2 separate regions of the Homo sapiens genome follow, and region 1 is linked to region 2. The links are contacts of gene promoters, found by promoter capture Hi-C in human tissues and cell types (Jung and others, 2019). All regions are on one chromosome and are shown on one strand. The core of a region is centred on a gene start or on the middle of the fragment in contact, and the rest is flanking DNA. Distances in the headings are between cores, read along the strand shown.

Region 1 (3,282 bases), core at 160-2,659, 1.6 Mb before region 2:
TGGCAAAGAGCTATGAACAAGGTAAAATTAAGAAACAGAATCGACTGTGAAGAACCAGCATCAAAGTCAATAGCAGCGTTTCCTAAACTTCACTTAGAAGAATTACCTAAGATATTTGCTAAAAATAAATTCCTGGCTACATCCCAGACCCACTGAATCAGAATCTCCTGGGAAAGGGCCCAGAAGCTGTAAAACAAGCGCCTTAGGTGATTTTTTAATTAGAGATGTTAGAGCAACATCAATGAGAAACTGGGGCCTAAACGTCAGACTTCGGCTTTAATCCCAGCTCTGCAACTTACTAGCTCTATAAACTTGAGTCTCTTTCCCCAGCTGAGTAATGGGCATCCAAGTATCCTTCAGAAGACTGCTGTAAGGATGGGGGGACCTGATGCAAGGAAAGCCACCAGGTGCCTAGTAGGGTGCAAGGGCCATCAGGAGGCGGGGTGGGGAAGACTGGCTGTCAGCGCCACAGGAATTACCTGTAATCGAGTGGATCTTCTGTTTCAGCTCGGAGCCTGTGCTGTCCAGGGGGAACTTCACGTCATGCTTGGTCTTATTCCAGATGATCTTCAAGTCCACCAGCTCCCTGCCCGCGCCGCCGCCCGCGTCTTCGCCGTTGCTGACCGAGGCCTGGGCTGCGGGGTCCCCAGGGGGCTGGGCCGGGGCCGGCTGCAGGCTGCCTCGTGCGGCGCCGGAGTCCTCGGCCGCCGCCCCCGCCGCGGCTTCAGCCTCCAGGCAGTTGACGGGCCGCGCGGGAGCCTCAGTAGCCACAGTCTCGGCCTCCGTGTCCATGCCAGGTTCCTCCATGCCTGCAAGGGGGTTAGGGGGTGGGCGCTCGCCGCGGGCTGGGCTTGGGAACGGACGCTGTCCGGGCGCCGCCGGACCTCCGTTCCCGAGCCGCGGTTCTCCCTCCCGGGCCGGGCCGCATCCCCCAGAGGAGCGACCGCAACCTCAGCCCCGGCCCGGCGCCCGCCACCCCCGCCGCACTCACCATCCGGGGCCCCGGCCGCCGCCATGATGATTGTGTACAACACCCACCGCTCCCGCAGAGGCCGCTGGGAAGAGGCGAGCTGGCTGAGATTGGCCCCCGCAGCAGCCCCTAATCTCTCACAGCCCGGCCGGAAACAGGTGGAGGTTTCTATGGAGACCCGCCTCCTCCGCTCCCAGGTCCGGCCCCTGCCACGCTTTCGCTTTCCCAAGCTGAAGGGGGCGGGTCCGGGAAATAGCCCTTTCTCTGGCCTCTGCCCCCTGGTGGCGAGTGCGGCCGCAGCCGTCCAGGGGGGCGTGGGATTTCGCGCTAGGGGGCCTGTGACTTTAAGGGGCAAGGCTGCGCTGGCTGTGGCGGAGGCCGATTGGCTGGAAGCAGTCCCCGGAAGTGACGCAGGGAGAAGCCCACGTGTGCTATTCCATCCCACATGGCGGCGCTCCTGAGGAGACTGCTGCAGCGCGAGAGGCCTTCGGCGGCCTCTGGCCGCCCCGTAGGACGGCGCGAGGCCAACCTGGGCACTGATGCCGGGGTTGCGGTGCGAGTGCGGTTCGCTCCCAGCCCCACAGGTAACCCTGGCGGACGTGACGCTACAGGCCGAGGCCCCCTGTCCCGTCTCCGCCCCACGAATGTTCCCGAATGAATCCTTTCCGGTGGTGTCAGAGTGGGCGGGCGGAGGAGGGTTAAGGCAGCGCGAGCCCATTTTACAGAGGCGGAAACTGAGGTGCAGGAGCGGAAATAATTCAAATTGCCAGGAGTTTCTTGTGTTTTTTGTGCCATCCCATCTCTTTCGATCTTTTTTTCATGCATTCCATACATGTGCATTGATGACAACCTGTGTAACAGGTGTTGTAGACGCTGGGATACAGTGATCATTGAGAAAGGTAGGGGCCTTGCTCTGTGGAAGTCTGCATTCTAGTGGCTGCCGCAGACACTTATAAAAAATAAGTGTAATTTTAGAGTCACATGTGCCATGCGGGAAGTGAAACAGGATAGGAGACTGGGGATTAAGAAGGACGCTCCAGAAGGCTTTACTGAGCAGGTAACATTTGAGCTGAGATCCAAATGACAAGAAGGAGCACGCTATGTGAAGCCTATAGAAGGAACCTTCTGGAGGCCAGGCGCGGTGGCTCACGCTTGTAATCCCAGCACTTTGGGAGGCAGAGGTGGGTGCATCACTTGAGGTCAAGTGGATCACTTGAGAGCCGTCTGACCAACATGGTGAAGCCCTGTCTCTACTAAAAATACAAAATTATCTGGGCATGGTGGCGCATGCCTGTAATCCCAGCTACTTGGGAGGCTGAGGCAGGAGAATCGCTTGAACGCAGGAGGTGGAGATTGCGGTGAGCCAAGATCGCGCCATTGCACTCCAGCCTGGGCAACAAGAGCGAAACTGTGTCTCAAAAACAAAAAAGAAGGAACCTTCTGGGTAGAGGAAATCGCAGGTACCAAGGCACTGTGCTAGTGCTGTTGGGAGCTTAGCAAGCTAGAGGGTGACAGAGGCCCATTGTATAGCCTGTTGGAGATCTCGTCAGGGCCTTTTGGTTCCCACCAGTAAGGCTACCTTCTACGTTCTCTACACGGAGTATGCCTCTCATCCCAAATCCCAGGATGAACATACAAAGATCTTTGTAGTAAAATCCCAGCTATACATGACAGGATCTTTCTGGCAGGCAGTATAGCCTAGAGCAGTGCCTTTCAAACCATCTGTTGTGGAAGTGCTGGTTTTAAATTTCCAATCAATTGTGTATCAATATTTGCACAAAATTAATATAATGACCAGAAAAATAAAATTTTGAAAACATCCAAAATACAAACCAATCTCATTTTATTTGGGTTAGCAGAGGTAAAATCATTCTGCCAGATTGCTATGTAAGTTTCGCCTGGCCAATATGGCAAAACCTTGTCTCTACTAAAATACAAAAATTAGCCGGGCATGTGGCCCAGGCCTGTAATCCCAGCTACTCAGGAGGCTGAAAATCGTTTGAACCCAGGAGAAAGAGGTTGCAGTGAGCCGAGATCGTGCCACCGCACTGCAGCCCGGGTGACAGAGTGAGACTCCATCTCAAAACAACAACAAAAGTTTCTAAACCTTTACTCTCAGTTTCTGTACTTGATTGTGAACTGACAACTGTTTTCAGACCAGCACTGGATTGCACACTTTGCTTTGAAGAGCACTTATGTAGAATGCCAAAGCCTGGGATTGCCTGGGTCCAAATTTCTGTCGTGGCCACTTATTAGATGTGTAACTTACTAGATGTGCAAATTATTATTGTTATTTTGAGACAGGGTTTGGC
Region 2 (3,271 bases), core at 718-3,217:
TATCACTTGCTTTTAGTACTGCTTTTCAGTTATGAATTACAATTAGCTTTACTTTATCGTCATCAATTTAGTTTGCTGGGTATGGTATAGTTAACCTTCTTTGTAATTTTGGCCTATAATTTTCCAAAAAGTAAACTTTTAAGATATATGGGCATAGCAATTCAAATATGAATAATCTATAATTCCGTTACCAAGTGAGATTTTAGGTGTTTTCCAACCAAATGTGCCCAAATAGTAACTCTTTGTTGGTAATTTTTTTTTTTTTTTTTTTTTGAGACGGAGTCTCGCTCTGTCGTCTAGGCTGGAGTGCAGCGGTGCGATCTCGGCTCACTGCAACCTCCGCCTCCTGGGTTCAAGAGATTCTCCTGCCTCAGCCTCCTGAGTAGCTGGGATTAGAGGCGCCCACCACCACCACGCCCGGCTATTTTTTTTTTTTTTGTATTTTTAGTAGAGACGGGGTTTCACCATGATGGCCAGACTGGTTTCGAACTCCTCATCTCAAGTGATCCGCCTGCCTCTGACTCCCAAAGTGCTAGGATTACAGGTGTGAGCCATCGCGCTCCGCCGGTAATGTGCTTCTTAATCGTCCCATTCAAATCAGCAAATTATCCTAGTAACTGTCATGCAATCTTCTAAATTATTTTGTTCTAATAACAAGATATATCTAAGTTTATTCTCCTATATAAAGTGCTAAAATTAGACACATAAATAATTGCTTTCAAGTTTACTGCAATTTGTTTACTTTGGGCCTCTCCAACTGTTTTCTCTGAGCTTTTTCTGTTGCAAAATAGAATGGAGAAGGAAATGTTGGGGTCTTTTGCCAATCTAACCGTGCTTCCCTCCAAGGGTAATCACTGGTGTGTCTAGGTATACCTGGAAGGTTAATGCAATTACAGCCTAAATCGATATAGCCCACAGCACATTTATGTAAACATAAAGCATAAGAACATTCCATGCCCAGGTCTGGTCTTCTGCATCTCCATCTAGGGGGGTTTCTCAACACAGGTACTACTACTGGCACTTGGGGCTAGATAATTCTTTGCTGTAAGGCGAAGTTTAGCAGCATCCCTGGCCTCTCCATGCCAATAGCACCCTCCTTACAAGTTGTTGCAACTAAATATGTCTCCAAACATCGCCACCGGTTCCCTGGGGGCATTCTGTCCCTCGCTATGATTTTTTAAGTGTTCCCCCTTACCCCTCTTAATAACCACTGTCCCACAGTGATATAACCCTGATGTGTGAGTTTTCCCCAAGTGACAGCTATGTTTAATTTAGGCTTGAAGGGGAAACTTAATTAAGGAGCTTTTGAGGACAAACAGAGACGTCTTGGAGGAACCGTCTAACATACGATCAAGAAAAGCAACGTTAGACTACTAAGACACCATAGTATTTAACAATGAAGTTCCAGGTACTGTAATAAGTGTTCTATCTGCATTAGCTCCTTTCTTATACTTTTATTCGCTGGGGAAACTGACGCTCCGTGATAAACCAAGGAGCAGAGGCTGCAGCGGATAAAGTGAAGGTGGGGGGCTAAGTGCGCCGTCCTCCCGCTCCCCCTGGGTTTCACGGTCTCTTTCTCCAGCACTTGAGTACCGGAGTGACCTTCAGAAGTCTCTCCAAGGACTCGCTTCAACTCCGCTCTCACGTCCTGCCCCTCTCTTCAGGTTTCCCGGTGTTAGGTCTCTTGTGCTCACAGCATGAGCTGGGCCTCCAAAGCCTGACCCAGTCTGCAGCCCACTTGGCCCGCAGGGTTCAGCTGAAGGGCAGACCGAATCCCAAGGCCCAGACCCCAGACCAGACACCTCCGCCTCGTATCACCTTGTCGACACACTGCTCCCCAGCCCTTTCCCAAACCCGCCACCTGAGCTCACCGAGAAAGAGCCGGCTCTGGTTAGTAGCTTCATGATTCAAGATTGTTCTGACACACGGTCACTGCCGGATTAAAGGAAAGCAAGATGGTGGCGGAGGCCGGGAGTTTCCCAGCGTTCCCCGCTAACACTTTCCCACGTCCCCTTCGTGAGGTACTCTCTATACTGCCGCGCTCTACTGCTCTCTTTATAAGGTTGGACCAGTCCAATTCCTCCAAGACTCAGAATAGGGAGACGCACAATTTCCCAAGTAAATATATGCAGAGAATAATGTACGTCACTGCTTTTTGCGTTCTTCTCCTAGCCTGAATATCCAGTATGCACCCCTTTTCTAAGTACGTCTGCAGCAGCCTGTCACAACTCCCCCCGCTATCTTGGGCTCTTCCGCTCAGCATTGTCCAATGGGACGCGCCTCTCTTGGGACTCCGCATGCGCCCTCCGGGATGACACCTGCACTGGAGGCCCTGGGTTTCCGCGTTCCTGGACGTTGGAGGCTTCAGGAGATTCCTGCCACTCCACCTTTCTGCAGAGGTATTGGGTATCGAAGCCCGGCGTAGTTGCCTCTCGCTGGGTGAAGTCCTTACTGGATCTTTAGCTCCGTGAAACAGGGGCCTCGTTCAACGTATTCGCCGCTGTGTCCCCCAGAGCAGGCCCGGGACACACCGGGAGGGTCAGCAACCTCGGGGAATCATCACAAGGCTTTTGGTCTCGTGGAATTTACGTCCTAGGCTGGGGCTACATAGAATATAAAAACTTAGCTATAGTTTTTGTGTTAGGAAAATAGAAATGTTTTGGATAGTAGGTGTGTTATGTGAGCCGAAACCGGCAGTTGGAGAAAGTCAGTCACGTGACGACTTGGGGCGGGGGCGTTCACTCCGGTCCTCAGCGAGTGTTAACCCAGAAAGTGCCTTGAGCTAGGCACTATGCCAACGCGAGAGGCGTGGTCCCTGCCCTTTAGGGACTTTAGAGTTTCGTACCTTGCTACGTTGCTTGGTTGGGAAACCGACAGTATCAGCATCAATATCATTTAGGAGTTGATTAGAAATGTATGAACTCCAGGTCCCATATTGGATCCGAATCGGTGTTTTTACAAGATCCTGGGATGACTTCGTATGCACAATAGTTTCAGAAAGGCTGGTGGTGTAGACGTTACAAGGCATAGGCAAATGTACTTTCTTTTTGCCTTGTGTCTGAATTGCTCCAGGCCTACAACGGACTTGGGCTCTCTAATTAAGATCTGGGCATTAAGAACCTGGCACCAACCCAATTTCTGTGCCTGCTGGGGACGCCCTCAACCCAATTCATACCACACAGTTTCCCCACATGTGGTAGATTTAACACTAGTGGTGCGTGAGATGATTTTAAGTTGGTACATAGATGAACACTTCCATTTTTTCCTTTTA

What was found. Contacts are between HindIII fragments. The study calls those that stand out against the background at their distance.
Region 1: a contact is called between the fragment with the promoter of EARS2 here and the fragment with the promoter of UQCRC2 in region 2, in 1 of the 25 tissues and cell types used here (spleen).

Annotation. Positions count from the first base shown.
Region 1 is chr16:23,555,477-23,558,758 of GRCh38, reverse strand. It overlaps EARS2 (glutamyl-tRNA synthetase 2, mitochondrial), which reads left to right and starts at 1,409. Exons shown (of 9, transcript NM_001083614.2): 1 at 1,409-1,554. The coding sequence starts at 1,416. UBFD1 (ubiquitin family domain containing 1) reads right to left here and starts at 1,032. Exons shown (of 7, transcript NM_019116.3): 1 at 992-1,032; 2 at 480-809. The coding sequence starts at 1,016. RefSeq lists silencers at 610-789, 890-979 and enhancers at 147-790, 1,050-1,249, 791-1,435, 1,440-1,719, 2,080-2,724. The HindIII fragment of the contact is 16,025 bases long and covers 1-3,282 here.
Region 2 is chr16:21,952,057-21,955,327 of GRCh38, reverse strand. UQCRC2 (ubiquinol-cytochrome c reductase core protein 2) reads right to left here and starts at 1,967. Exons shown (of 14, transcript NM_003366.4): 1 at 1,872-1,967. The coding sequence starts at 1,904. RefSeq lists enhancers at 1,625-1,674, 1,685-1,854, 1,369-2,086, 2,175-2,634. The HindIII fragment of the contact is 13,220 bases long and covers 1-3,271 here.